Linked DNA regions of Homo sapiens: all the other regions are linked to region 5. The links are contacts of gene promoters, found by promoter capture Hi-C in blood cells and fetal thymus (Javierre and others, 2016). All regions are on one chromosome and are shown on one strand. The core of a region is centred on a gene start or on the middle of the fragment in contact, and the rest is flanking DNA. Distances in the headings are between cores, read along the strand shown.

What was found. The method cuts DNA at HindIII sites, captures the fragments that hold promoters and counts their contacts. A CHiCAGO score of 5 or more calls a contact.
Region 1: a contact is called between a fragment that was not itself captured here and the fragment with the promoter of ERI1 in region 5, in 16 of 17 cell types (total B cells, non-activated CD4 T cells, fetal thymus and 13 more). The highest score is 18.6, in total B cells.
Region 2: a contact is called between a fragment that was not itself captured here and the fragment with the promoter of ERI1 in region 5, in 2 of 17 cell types (total B cells and naive B cells). The highest score is 5.7, in total B cells.
Region 3: a contact is called between a fragment that was not itself captured here and the fragment with the promoter of ERI1 in region 5, in 3 of 17 cell types (naive B cells, total B cells and M0 macrophages). The highest score is 13.1, in naive B cells.
Region 4: a contact is called between a fragment that was not itself captured here and the fragment with the promoter of ERI1 in region 5, in 1 of 17 cell types (M2 macrophages). The highest score is 5.7, in M2 macrophages.

What each region holds. Positions count from the first base shown.
Region 1 is chr8:8,741,343-8,744,238 of GRCh38, reverse strand. No RefSeq gene overlaps it. Among named protein-coding and RNA genes, the nearest start is that of CLDN23, 41 kb to the right of the region's middle. The HindIII fragment of the contact is 1,315 bases long and covers 976-2,290 here.
Region 2 is chr8:8,657,526-8,660,225 of GRCh38, reverse strand. No RefSeq gene overlaps it. Among named protein-coding and RNA genes, the nearest start is that of CLDN23, 43 kb to the left of the region's middle. The HindIII fragment of the contact is 2,820 bases long and covers 1-2,700 here.
Region 3 is chr8:8,675,158-8,677,857 of GRCh38, reverse strand. No RefSeq gene overlaps it. Among named protein-coding and RNA genes, the nearest start is that of CLDN23, 25 kb to the left of the region's middle. The HindIII fragment of the contact is 1,120 bases long and covers 830-1,949 here.
Region 4 is chr8:9,335,949-9,338,776 of GRCh38, reverse strand. No RefSeq gene overlaps it. Among named protein-coding and RNA genes, the nearest start is that of PPP1R3B-DT, 190 kb to the right of the region's middle. RefSeq lists an enhancer at 123-1,056. The HindIII fragment of the contact is 943 bases long and covers 957-1,899 here.
Region 5 is chr8:9,001,427-9,004,288 of GRCh38, reverse strand. It overlaps ERI1 (exoribonuclease 1), which reads right to left and starts at 1,392. Exons shown (of 7, transcript NM_153332.4): 1 at 1,118-1,392. The coding sequence starts at 1,225. LOC105379227 (a long non-coding RNA gene) reads left to right here and starts at 1,547. Exons shown (of 3, transcript XR_002956680.2): 1 at 1,547-1,628. The HindIII fragment of the contact is 5,155 bases long and covers 428-2,862 here.

The DNA.
Region 1 (2,896 bases), core at 384-2,883, 260 kb after region 5:
GAATGAGATATCTTTCCTTACACACTTGATAAAGCTTAGAATTCATGTGTTAGAAGACAGGGTTTTGCATTCCACGTTGGGAGATGAAGCTTCCAGAGCAAATTCCTGAGCTGTAGTCAACTCCTTTGTTCCCCGGCATTCCTCTAACAAAAGCCCCTCAACAGGCTCACGCACTGACTGCTAGACAGAGCCTGGCTTCTTTGACGGGGTCTGCTATCTAACCCCCACCATGGGTGAACCGTCCAGAGCCTGTGCCCACACCTGCTCCAGAGGTCATGTGGGCTTGCAGTGCCCCTAAGACCCTGGCTCTTAGCCAAGCACATCTAATTCCCTTTGATCCTCCAATCTGACTTCCTCATGGAAGCTGTATGTGTCCTTCTGGCCCACAGTGAGGATAATAGGATGAGGCCCCTTGAAGAAATTGAGTCCTCTGATAAGAAGATACCAAGACAGGATTAGATGTGCAGGAGATTTCCTGCGGGAATGCCTGTGAAGGATGAAGGGGAGAAAGCAGGACCAGGCAAAGGAGCATCAGACAGAGATGCAGGCTGGCTTCTGTAGGGGAGAGGAGGAAGGAGGGAGGGCGGGGGACGAGGAGTTCCAGGCAGCAGTGCAGCTCTGCGGGCATTGCAGCCGGGCTGGAGAGGAGCTCCTGAGCCGAGGGGCCCATAGAGGAGTTCCAGTCATGGAGGACTTGGCAGAGAGCAGCTCAGGGCCAGGAGCAGCGGCTGGGGCTGTCAGTCAACTTGCTCCCTGCAGCAGGAGGCTGGGGCTGTGCATTTCCATGGCTGCTGTGCTTCTGAGCCTTTCGCCATTTGCTACTTTCTCATCGTGCCACGATGACTTGTTATTTAAGCTTGTGTGGGTAGTAATGATCATTATTAACGTTTATGGAGCATTTACTACATGCCCGATGCTGTGCTAAGTGCTTATTTGCTTAGGAGATACAAATGTCTCAGACCTCAAATTCAAGCTTTAGAAATTATTTTTTATCCCTGATTTTATATTTTGGGCCCACGTTGCACTGGTGATAGGAATGCAATCTTAGCCACTTCAGGTATTCTCCAGTTAATCCAGGAGTTTCTCACCTCCCTCCTTCCTCCTCTGGTTGCATCTGAGTTTCAAGGGGGTTTAGTGCCAAGGAGTGGGTGAAGGGCCTGGCCCCTGGGGCTTGTGTGCCCACCCTGGCATCTTTTGCTGAATCCTCATTCTCACTGGCCTCTGATCGTCTGTGCCCATTGGCACCTGGAAGATGTTCAAAGTTTATCTGGTTTCCTAGTGAAAGGCTTTCAGATAACCCTGCTTCCTCCTTTCTCCAGCTCGAGGCCTCTCTGGGCTGCTGGCCTCTGACCACATCTGTGCCCGTCTTGATGGCCACCTGTGCCAGGCTGCATCTGGAGCTGTCTCCTTAATGACTCCACACTGCCATTTATGTGTGACCCTTATGACATCTCCTTCATTTAGGGGCGAGAGATGCTGGGTCCTGCTGCTTTCCCAGGGGGCCACCCAGGAAATAGGGCCCAGGCTCCTTCTGCGTGCAGATTCTCAGCCTTCTCTGAGTGTTGTGTCCTTGCTTTGCCCATATACCCCAGTCTCTGGTTCACTCAGCAGCATTTTAGTGCTTGCTTCCCTTCTGACACCAGAGTAGCTATGATTACAAAGTCAAAAGGGCTGGGCCTGGTGGCTCATGCCTGTAGTCCCAGCACTTTGGGAGGCCGAGGTGGGCGGATCACTTGAGGACAAAAATTTGAGACCAGCCTGGCCAACATGGTGAAACCCTATCTCTGCTGAAAATATAAAAATCAGCTGGGCAGGGTGGCATGTGCCTGTAGTCCCAGCTACTCGGGAGGCTGAGGCAGGAGAATTGCTTGAACCTGGGAGGCAGAGGCTGCGGTGAGCCGAGATCATACCACTGCATTCCAGCCTGGGTGATAGAGCAAGAATCCCTCTCAAAATAAATAAATAAGTAAATAAATAAATAAATAGTAAAAAAATAACTGATGTTGCTGAGGCCGCAGAGAAAAAGGAGCTCTTCCACACTGTTGGTATGGATGGGGATGTAAATTAAATCAGCCACTGTAGAAAGCAGTTTAGAGATTTCTCAAAGAACTTAAAATAGAACGACCGTTTGACCCAGCAAACCCATCACTGGGTATATACCCAAAGAAATAGAAATCATTCTATCAAAAAGAGACATGCACTTGTATGTCCATCACTGTGCTGTTTACAATAGCAAAGACATGAAATCAACTTAGGTGCCCATCAATGGTGTACTGGATTTTTTTAAGCTTATAAGCAACAGAAATTTATTTCTAGTTCTTAAATAATTTCAACTTTTATTTTAGATTCAAGAGGTACATGTACAGGTTTGTTACCTAGGTATATTGTGTGACACTGAGGTTTGGGGTATGAACAATTCCATCACCCAGGTAATGAGTATAGTACCTAAAAGGTAGTTTTTAAACCCCTGAGGCCCGCCTGCCCTCTCTCCTCTAGTGGTTCACAGTATCTGTTGTTCCCATATTTATGTCCATGAGTACCCAATGCTTAGCTCCCACTTGCAAGTGAGAACATGTGGTTATTTGGTTTTCTGTTTCTGTGTTAATTTGCTTGGAATAATGGCCTCCAGCTGCATCCTCTTAGCTGCAAAGGATATAACTTCATTCTGTTTTTATGGCTGCGTAGTATTCCGTGGTGTATATGTATCACATTTTCTTTATCCAATCCACTGTTGATGGGCATCTAGGATGATTCTTTGTCGTTGCTATTGTGAATAGTGTTGCAATGAATATATGAGTGCATGTGTCTTTTCGGTAGAACGATTTATTTTCCTTTGAAAATATACGCAGTAGTGGGATTGCTGGGTCGAATGGTAGATCTATTTCCAAGTTTTTTG
Region 2 (2,700 bases), core at 143-2,642, 340 kb after region 5:
TTCTGTCAATCAGAGAGCTAATTATTGAAATCTCCAAGTATAATTTTGGATTTATTTTGTTCTCTTTGTAGTTCTAACAATTTTTGCTTTATGTAGTTTGAAGCTCTGTTATTGTGTGCCACTGTTACTAATTTGCCACTCCAATTTTCTTTTGATTAGTATTAGTATGGTATATCATTAAAAATAATTTTTAAATTATTTTACTTTACCCATGTTTTAATATATAAAGAACATTTCCTTCTCCTCTTCTTCTTCTTCTTTTGACTTAACAACAGAAATTTATTTTTTCACAGTTCTGGAGGCTGAAAGTCTGAGATCAGGGTGCCAGCATGTTTGGGTTCTGGTGAGGGCTCTCTTCCTGGCTTGCCAACAGCCACCTTCTCACTATGTGCTTACATGGCCTTTCCCTGGTGCCAGTGTGGGTGGGGGCCAGGAGAGCAAGAAGAGCATGTCTTATAGACAGTATTTATTTCGGTCTAGATTTTCAATCCAGTCTGACCATTTCTGCAGTTAATCAAGATTGTTTAGCTCATTTACATTTAATGTGATTATTGATATGATTAGGTTTAAATCTGCCATCTTGCTGTTTGTTTTCTAGATGTCCTATCTGTTCTTTACTCACTTTTTTCTATTTTTGCCATCTTTTGAATTAACTGATCCTTGAAATAATTTTTTTTTTATTATTGGCTTACTAACTATAAATCTTTTTGTCATTTTAGTAGTAAAATATAGTGTATATAGTTTATAGTGGAGAGCATATAATTCTAATTTTTCACTGTCTTCTTTTGTCTGACCTACCACTTTATGTGTAAGAATCATACAATAGAGGCTGGGTGTGGTGGCTCATGCTTGTAATCCCTGCACTTTAGGAGGTCAAGGTGGGTGGATCACGAGGTCAGGAGTTTGAGACCAGTCCGGGCAACACAGTGAAACCCCATCTCTACTAAAAATACAAAAAAAAATTAGCTGGGCATGGTGGGGGGCACCTGTTATCCCTGCTACTTGGGAGGCTGAGGCAGGAGAATTACTTGAACCCAGGAGGTGGAAGTTGCAGATCCGAGATCGTGCTACTGCACTGCAGCCTGGGTGACAGAGCTGAGGTCAGCAGATCGAGACCATCCTGGCTAACATGGTGAAACCCTGTCTCTACTAAAAATAGAAAAATTTAGCCAGGCATGGTGGCAGGTGCCTGTAGTCCCAGCTACCCAGGAGGCTGAGGCAGGATAATGGCGTGAACCCAGGAGGCGGAGCTTACAGTGAGCCGAGATCGCACCACTGCACTCCAGCCTGGGTGACAGAGCGAGACTCCATCTCAAAAAAATAAAATAAAATAAAATAAAAAGAATCACAGAATAGAATATTTCTATTTCCCCCTCCTGGTTGCTCTGCTAGCACTGTAATATATTTTACTTACACGTATGAAGTTTAACTACATTGTTCTTATTTTTGTTTAAATATTCAGTTATCTTGTAAATAGATTTAATAAGAAAAATCACATATAGTTACAATTTTTGGTGTTCCTTTTTTGTGAAGCTCCTTACTTCCTTCTGCCTAAAAGACTCTAAAATGTCTTGCAGTGTGGATTTGCTAGTGAATTCTTTCAGTTTTTCTATGTTTGAAAACATCTTCATTTCATCTTTGTTTCTGAGAGATATTCTTGCTTGGTGTAAAATTCTAGCTTGATAGTTTTTATCTTTCAATGTTTTGAAGATGTCTGTTGGCTTACATTGTTTTCTATTAAAAAAATCTATTCTCATCTTTATTTTTGTTTCCTCTTTATGTAACATCTTATTATTTTCCTCTGGCTGCTCTAATATTTTGTGTCTATTATTGATTTCTTTAACAATTTGATTATGATATGTCTTAGTGTTTTGTTTCATGCTTCTTTTGCTTGGGGGTTTGTTGAACTTCTTGGATCTGTGAGTTTTTAGTTTCAATTAAGTTTGCAATGTTTTCAACTGTCATTTCTTCAAATATTTGTTCAGTTGCCTCTCCTCTCCTCTGGCAACTCCACTGCACGTGTATTAGGCCAGTTGAAGTTGTCTCAGAATTCACTGATCCTCTTTTAATTAAAAATTTTTTTTCCAGACAAGCGTGGTGGCTCACACATGTAATCCCAGATTTTGGGAGGCCGAGGCAGGTGGATCACATGAGCTCAGGAGTTCAAGACCAGCCTGGTCAACATGGCAAAACGCCATCTCTACTAAAAAAACACACAAAAAAATTAGCCAGGTGTGATGGCACACACCTGTAATCTCAGCTACTCAGGAGGCTGTGGCAGGATAATTGCTTGAACCTGGGAGCCGGAGGTTGCAGTGAGCCAAGATTGCACCACTCTACTCCAGCCTGGGCAACAGAGTGAGATTCTATGTCAAAAAAAGAAAAAAAAAATTGTTTTTCCTCTCAGTGTTTTTATTTTGGATAGTTTCCATTGCCATGGTTTCAAATTTACAGATCTATTTTTTTGCTATGTCTAATCTACTATTAATCCCATCAATTTTTTAAATTTTTGATATTGTAGTTTTTTATTTACAGAAGTTCAATTAGAGTATTTTTGTTAAATCATTTTTCTCTACTTAACTTTTTGAATATCTGGAATATGGTTATAATTGCTCAATGTACTCGTCTACTAATGATAACATCTGTGTCAGTTTCGAGTCAGTTTTGAATTATTTCCCCCATCATGTGTTATATTTTCCT
Region 3 (2,700 bases), core at 140-2,639, 330 kb after region 5:
AGTTTTCTCAGCTCACACCAAATAGGTTACTATTCACCCCTAGGCAGATTTCTCCGGGCTGGTTTTCCCAGGGTCTCCCGTGGTTGCTCTGTCACACAACTGCAAGGGCACTGGCAACTTTGTGTTTTCTTTTCTTTTCTTTTTTCTTTTTTTTTTGAGACGGAGTCTTGGGCTGTCATCCAGGCTGGAGTGCAGTGGCGCGATCTCAGGTCACTGCAACCTCTCCCTCCCGGGTTCGAGTGATTCTCCTGCTTCAGCCTCCTGAGTAGCTGGGACTACAGGTGTGCACCACCACGCCTGGCTAATTTTTGTATTTTTAGTAGAGATGGGGTTTCGCCATGTTGGCCACGCTGGTCTCAAACTTCCGACCTCAGGTGATCCACCTGCCTTAGCCTCCCAAAGTGCTGGGATTACAGGCATGAGCCACCGTGCCCAGCCTATTTTGTGTTTTCTACCAGCCTCCCTCTAACACCATTCCTGGCATAGAGCAGACACTTAGTAAATATATGTCTTTTAATCTCAGTAAAATAAATGCTTGAGTTTATTCCTTTTAAGGGTAATCTGTCATGGTTTAAGACAAAATTGGACTTTCTATAGACTGTGTCAGCCTTGATAAGTCTTGAAATCTTGGGTACTACTAAGGTTACCAATTTTAAGAGTTAAAGCAACAATAACAGCAAAATACCTTTTGATGACCTAAAAACTTGTTGCATCATTTCATGTGAAAGATTTGAGAGGCATAGCTAGAAGAAAGACTGCCAGCTTGGAAACCAAATTCAGGCTTGATCAAGGCAGATACTGACCAGTGACTCAAAAGTGACAGAAAGCTTCCTGTATTTAATCAAAGATTCGAAGTCAACAAGTAACAGAAAGATACAAATAAGGCCGCTTAGGCTGCTTGGCATACGACTGCGTCATTCTGTTGAACAGGAAAACAAAAGTACTTGACCTTTGCTGTTGTATTTTATCGGGAGACATGAGGGTCCTGTGGAAACAGTTCAGGTCTCACGTAATAATAGCATTTGCTGTTCTTTAGGTTTTAAAAATTTTGATGCGTGAGGAATTCACTTTTCTGTTTCAGGTTTCTCATGCATAAAATGAGGACAATAATACCTGTAGCATGGTGCGATTGTAAAAATTGAGATAATACAGTATCCTGCGTGGTGCCATCTTTAAAATTTCTTCTGTGGATCGCACATCTCCTTTCCGCTACTGCTCTAGGGCTCTGCTTCTGAACAAAGCGTGTCCTCTCAAAAGACTTGATATTAGGCCTCCATTCTCACAGACTCTTGTCATCATCCTGCTCCAATTAGTTCTTTGGCTCTAGCCCATCAAGTTCCACAATGACCTCCATATCTGTTAAATCTCATGGTCAATTCCTGTCAATTTCCTGTCCTCAGAGCAGCATTTGACACAGCTGAACACTCTGCTTTTCTGGAAATGTAGTTTTCTCCAGGCTTCCAGGATTGCACTGTTGCCTGGAATTCCTCCACTGACACGACTCTTTTACTTATCTCCTTAGTTCCCTTCTCCTTGGTGGATTTCTAAATGTGGGGGTGCTCCAGGATTTTGATCTGGGATATCTTCTCCTCTGTCTCTCCCTGCTGCTAAGGCCATCAAGTCATCTTATGCATATGTTGAAGACCCTTAGCCTCTCATCTGAGCTCCAGAATTGCATATGGAATTGTCCACTTGGATTTCTAAGAGGCACCTCAAACTTAACATGATCCAAAGCAAACTGTCCATGTGAACTTCTCCCCTGTCTTCATCCCACCCACTTCTTGCCTAGTCTTCCTTTTCTTCCTGCATGGACCTCTCTTTAATTTAGCTGCTCAGACAAAAAACTAGAAGTCATCCCTTGTTTTTTTTTTTTTTTTTTTTTGTGATGGAGTTTCACTCTTGTTGCCCAGGCTGGAGTGCAATGGTGTGATCTCGGCTCACTGCAAGCTTCATCTCCTGGGTTCAAGTGATTCTCCTGCCTCAGCTTCCCGAGTAGCTGAGATTACAGGCGCCCACCATCACACCTGGCTAATTTTTGTATTTTTAGTAGAGATGGAGTTTTGTCATGTTGACCAGGCTGGTCTTAAACTCCTGACCTCAGGTAATCCGCCCGCCTTGGCCTCCCAAAGTGCTGGAATTACAGGCGTGAGCCACCGCACCTGGCCTAGAAGTCACCCTTGACCGCTTTCTTTTTCTTTTCATGTCCAGTGCATCAACAGGTTCTATCTGGGCAGCTTCCAAAATGTATCTTGAACCCAACCACTCTTTATCATCTCCCTGACTAAAGCTGTAATCCAAGCCACCATCACCGTTCATCTGGGTTCCTGCCAGTATCTTGTACCTTGATGGCCCAGTAGCCATACAGAAGCTATAGTTATCTCTTGAAAGCATAAGTCAGATCAGGCTTGAAAAGCCCGAAAGCTCTTACTACCCTTAGAATGGAATACCAACTCTTTGGCCTGGCCTGCGGTCCAACATGACCTGGTCCCCCGACTTGTTCTGCACATACCTCTTTCTCATTTTCCTCCTCACCCACTGTGATCTGGCCTCGGTGACGGTTTTTCTGTCTCTCTCACATGCTGTGCTTCTTCTTCCCTTAGAGCCTTTGCAGAGGCTCATCCCTCTTCTAGGAATTTGCTCCCTGAGGTTGTCACACCGTGGTCCTCTCTCATCATTTAGAGCTCAGATGTTATTTTCTCA
Region 4 (2,828 bases), core at 179-2,678, 330 kb before region 5:
AGATGAGTGTAGATATATGTACATATGTCTCATATTGCATGCATATATCATATATGTAAATACATACATACATAAATAACCTGTATATGTCTATGAATACACATAATGTCTGCTACGCTGGGTCTAATATGCTCATATTCCCTAGGGATATTTTTCCTGGGCTGTGTTTTCCTTTGCATGCCCACAGCCTAGAAGTTTGAAGCGCTTGTCAGGAGGAGGATTCATTTTCCCAGAGGACAGTAGTAACTGAAAAAAAATGAAATAAAATGAATACTACCTGTAGTGAGCAGGTCTGTCCATGAGGTGGTGGTGTTAGTATAATGGAAGCAGAAGGGAATAAGGTCAGGGCAGAAAGAGGCCCTCTGTTGGATTGATGGTGGAAGGATAAATCCATGCCCCTCCGTGAACTCCCACCCCGAAGCCTGACAGGTGCCTGGCTACTGGCTGCCACGGTGTAGGAAATTCGCACACGTAGCTTCTCAGCAGCTCCTAGACCAGCTGGCCTGGAGGCTTGGAAGCAGTCCAGGCAGAGGGGACACAGGATAAACCATCAGGAGCAACAGCTCTATCAAGTGGACTTGAGTAGAATGTTCTCATGGCACTTGGACACCCCTCACATTCTCCGGCCTGTAGGTGGTTTTCTTTGCCGCCCACTGAGGGCTGCAAGAAGCATTCCAGCCAACACACAAAGCCTGGCGCTGAGGCTCCTCCAGCTCAGCCTCCTGGGCAAGCTTTTCTGCCCTTTCCACACACATCTGCAAGCTCCTGCTGTTGGAATCCATAGAGATAGGACCCGGGCCAACAAAACATCTCTGCATATTGAAAGCATTCCCAAACACCACTTCTTTTGCAAGCAATGGCTGCTAAAGGCTGGACCACACCAAAGTAGATACTCCCTGTCTGCATGGTCTTTGAAGGGAGTAGAGATGCTATGAAAACAATTCACCACTGAAGCTTTCCCTGGTGCTAATCTTGCTTTCTAGTTTCTGAAGTTACATTTTTTATGTTTTTTTAAAAAAAGGTACCCTGTGTCTTCACCAGAGAGAAGGGAGAAGGAACCTTGACTGATTCTCTGTGGCAGGCACAAGATCTATCTTATCACTTTCAGTCCATTTAGCAACCCTGCTCTCTGAGGACTTCACAGACGGGGAAGCTGGGCTCTGAAGAGTGATGGAATTCGTCTGTAGTGTGCTCTGTAGTGGGCTCTGAAGGGTGATGGAACTCACATGTGTCAGCCACAGACCCAGATCTCTCTGGTTTCCTTTGTTTTGTTGACTACTTTGTTGATATTAAACAACTGGCTTTCCAATGAAAAGTAGTAACAATCATAGGATAACACCCTTAACATCTGTGTGTCCCTCTACAGTATACAAGATGCCTTTCCATTGCTGGGGCCCGGCCCAGCTTGGAGATCGGCCCCCTCTGCTCTGCTTCTCCCTGGCTCCACCTTGCCAGCTCCAGACTGCGCGTGTCCCCAGCGGAGCTGGTTCTCACTCCCTTTTGCAGACATGCTTCCTTGCTGGGCGACTTCACTGGAAGACTGTCTACTGATTCAGGGTGACAGGCTGTGCCAACGCCCCAGCCCTTGTGGGGCTCATAAATCCTGGGATGGTAGGCGCTAGAGAGGTGCACCTCAATGACAGCAAATTTGGCCTGTCTCTCGTTTTTACCCGGGGCTAGCCTTGACTGAGGCTGAGCAAAGTGTCAGTGATGAAGGACTTGTCAACACTGCCTGGCTTCCTTCCTCACTTGCCATCAAAGGTGGACTTTTGTCCAAAGCTCTTTAATTTGGGAATTAGGTCTTATGTGTAACTGCCAAGTTAAATTGGACCCAAGAGTGAATTTGGATCTGCATTGAAGAGGGAGTGGAAATAAGTAAGTTCTGGGGTGCCCTAAGCTTGGCGCATAATCATAAGAATAAAGACTGATGCTTTGAGCTCTTGCTGCAGGCCAGCTGTGTGCTAAGTGCTTCTTCACTCTGTCAGCTTCTTACTTCACAATCCTGTCAGGTACAGGCTATTCGTGCCCAGAGAAATGAGACGCTAAGAGATGATATGATTTGCCCAAGATCCCACAGCTAGCAATGGAGGCATTGGCATTTGAATTTGTATAGTCTGTACTGCCAGAATGGCCGCTGACCTCTCCAAGGCCATGTGGGAGGTTTTCGATGAGCCCTGAAGCTCTGTGGAGTTTCTGGCATCTGGGGGAGGCCTCTGTTTACATCCAAGCCTTGGGAGAAGCCCTTGGGAGGACCACATGGGGTGACAGCGCTGTGTTGGTGGCAGCCTGTCATGGGTCCTGAAGCCCAGCTTATTTTCTCTCTTTCTTTTCCTCCCTCCCAAATCCTTTCTGCCTTGCCTGCCATCCAGCAAATCAATTCCAATTGATTCCAAATGATAACATTTTATTGGAGTTTTGTTTATTTGAAGATCAATAGTGACAAGAATGTGGCAGTCTCCACCCTGAAAGACCATATTCAAGCACGCTTTTTTATCTTGACTTCAAGTCTCAACCTGGACTCCAGCCTACAGCCTCTGGTAGGCAGACTATCTTGTGCTCACCCTTGTCTTGGCAGCACAATCACATGCCCGTTTTGTGCGTTTGCCTTTTGGGCCCCAGTATACAAGAAATGGGCTTAATTGAAACTGTAAGTGAATTTGTCTGGAACACAGAAAACACTCAACAGCACATCTCCCTCGGACAGACACTGTCAGTCTAATCAGAGGCCTTGAATTATTAAAGCTCTCTAGCCACTTAGAGCTGCAGGTCACCAAGGCACCGAACACACTTGCCTGAGTGGCACTGGATTAGGAAGCAGTGGGCTCACA
Region 5 (2,862 bases), core at 143-2,642:
ATTGACAACGTATCTCAGGCTGAAGAGGGAGGCAGGTGGAAGAGTGGTTCTTTACAAGAGAAGGGATGTGCAAGTACTCTTTGAAATAACAACCTTAGAAGGAGAAAGATAATTGCAAGGATCCAAAGGAAGTGCACACAGGGCAAAAGGAACATACAGAGATCCTTAACGAGACCTTCTTTCCAATGTCAAAGAACACAAGGCAGCGAGGGGCACTGGGAACAAAAGGGAAAAAACTGTGTGAGATGCAATTACCAAGGGAGGCAGGCACCCGACCCCGCAGAGCAGCAAATGGAAGTGACTCAGGAGGGGAATAAGCCAAATTCATGTTATTGAAAAGCTCATTCTAGCTGCCAGATGGAAACTGACTGTGGACGGAAGGAGCAAGAGTTAGGAGGCCTCTTGCAAATACGCACTTTATGAAGCTTTACGAAGTGTTCAACATGTTTATTATTAGGAAAAGATCAATTTTAGTATTCAATCACTTACAATCCGCAGCGCTAGTCAACAATTAACATTCGTTAAATAAGTTTTAAGACTGTTCTACAACTTTGCCACTGTAACTAAGTTCAACCGATGAGATGTCAAAATGATTCATTCAATCTTATACTATGGTTATATGAGACACCAGTTAATGAGCAAAAGCAGCTAAGACGAAGCTCCACTTAACAGGTACAGAGACAGGGATGCTGGTGAGTGCTTTTTAAATTTTTTCTTTTTTTAAAAACAGGCATGAAGTGACATACCTAGCGTATATGGTGAGATTTTAAAAACATAAAGCCTTGCAAACTACCCATAACGGCTACATGGAGTGACAACAGCAACCGTGAACACAGAATTAAGTTTAAAGCAAAACTCCCTCTTAGAACCTGTTAACCCACTGTAGACAGAACTGGTCTTGACGATTTCCTCCCTCCCAGAGAGTGATTCGGCCCTGAGGGGGCTCCAAGACACCCACCCGAGGATAAAGCCAGGGAGCTGGGCACCGAGGAAGAGGCTGGGGTCCAAGGGCGCACAGCTGCACCTTCTGCGGGACACCTGAGAAGAAAGGGGTGCCGAGGGCGCTTTGGGGACGGGGCAGCTGGCGCCAACAGCCAGGCGCGGGTCGACTCCTCACCTCGGGACTGGGACGCGGCGGCTCCTCCCCGCCCTCCGGCCGCGGCGACTCCAGCAGCGCGAGAGCCACGGCCTCGCCGGCAGGCTCTTTACTCTGTGGATCCTCCATGCCGGCTGTCACGCCAGAGGAGAGTTGCTGGAGCCGGACACTTGCTAACTCTCACTCTGCAGAGCCCGAAAGCCTCGCCTTTCTCCGTTGAAAAATTACCGGGCTCGCGTTCCCGCGGCGGCGGCCACACAAACTCCAGCGGCCACCTCCCACTTCCGGGAGCGTGTGGCGTCCACACGCCGGGCAGGCGCAGTGAGCCGGCGTGCGCGGAACGCCAGCGCCGCAGTCCACAGGGGGAGGGAGGACGAACAAGAGGGAGGCGCGCCGGTGAGAAGACGGGGCGTGGCCGGCCGTAGGCGGAGCTAGCGCGGGTTGAAGTTGCGCAAGGATCTAGTCCAGTCACTGGAGGGTAGCACCGGCACGTGTGTTCCCGTCAGTGTTTCCTGAGAAGGAAAAAAGTAGGGTGAGTGGGAAGATATCATAGAGAAAGATGTTTTCGACCATAAAAAATAATAAAACAATTCACATTTTCCATAAGGAGTTTCCTAAAACTTCCACTCTGGGCAAGAAAAGAAAATGGGTCGGGACTTAGTGTCCCACTATAAACAATTAGAAAACGGAACAAAATATAGGAGACACCTATTCAGACATTGGACAACGGACAGCTGTGGACTGTTTTACCTGAGAGAAAAGAAATAAAAGGAGCCGTATATCATCCTGCCCTTTTGCCCAGAGGCGATTTCCAGTCTGTGGTGCGATGAAAGGAAATCATATGGAAACCTAGGATCTCCTGGGTTGAAAAGACAGAGATTGGAGTTGACGAAATTGGGGTAGGCCAAGTCGGTTGGAATTTGTAGGGCAGAATTCTGGAGAGGAGGGAATTACATGGAAAAAGAGCTTCAGAAATCTGCTTAGGAGTACCTTGAATCTTTAACTGAATAAAAAACGTGAAACTCCACAAGGCCAGGAAAGAACAATTACTGGGGAGCAGTACACCAAACAATGGTGAGAGGTCACACAGAACTGGGAATCATTTGAGCTCCCAGCAACCAGAGTGAAGAGATTATTGAATACCATGGAACACGCAATAGAAACCTCAGATGTGAAACTGCCATTGCAAAATTATCATTGAGACAGTGAAAGAGATCAGACCTAACCAACTCCATCTTGCTTTTAACCTCCAGGCTATCCTTATTCATTCCTAGGCGTAGGCCAAACTAACACTGGGAGGAACTTAGTGTATAGCTTATAGTTTAAAACAAAGGTGATAGCCCTTTCTCAAAATAAACCCTCTTCTTGAGACTAGACTGCTTTTGTAGGACTAGTAAATTAGCCGAAAGATTAGAAATTATGATTTAGGACTCATGCAGCTGAAGGCTACAAGATTCTAACCCTCTCCAAATTGCTCCTGGGGATAATATCACTATTGTAAAATCTAAGATCAGTGCTTGAGATATTTTGCAGGCCCTGCACTTGATGGATCAGCTGGCACCTCCCAGATTGATAAACTGACTCACCTGATCTTGGATAAACTAGCTCATCTGATTTTGTGTCCCCCACGGGAGGAACTGACTCAGTGCAAGAGGACAGCATCGACTCCCTATGATTTCATCTCCTACCCAACCAGTCACCACTCCCATCTCACTGGCTTCTCACCCACCCAATTATCCTTAAAAACTCTGATCCCCAAATGCTCA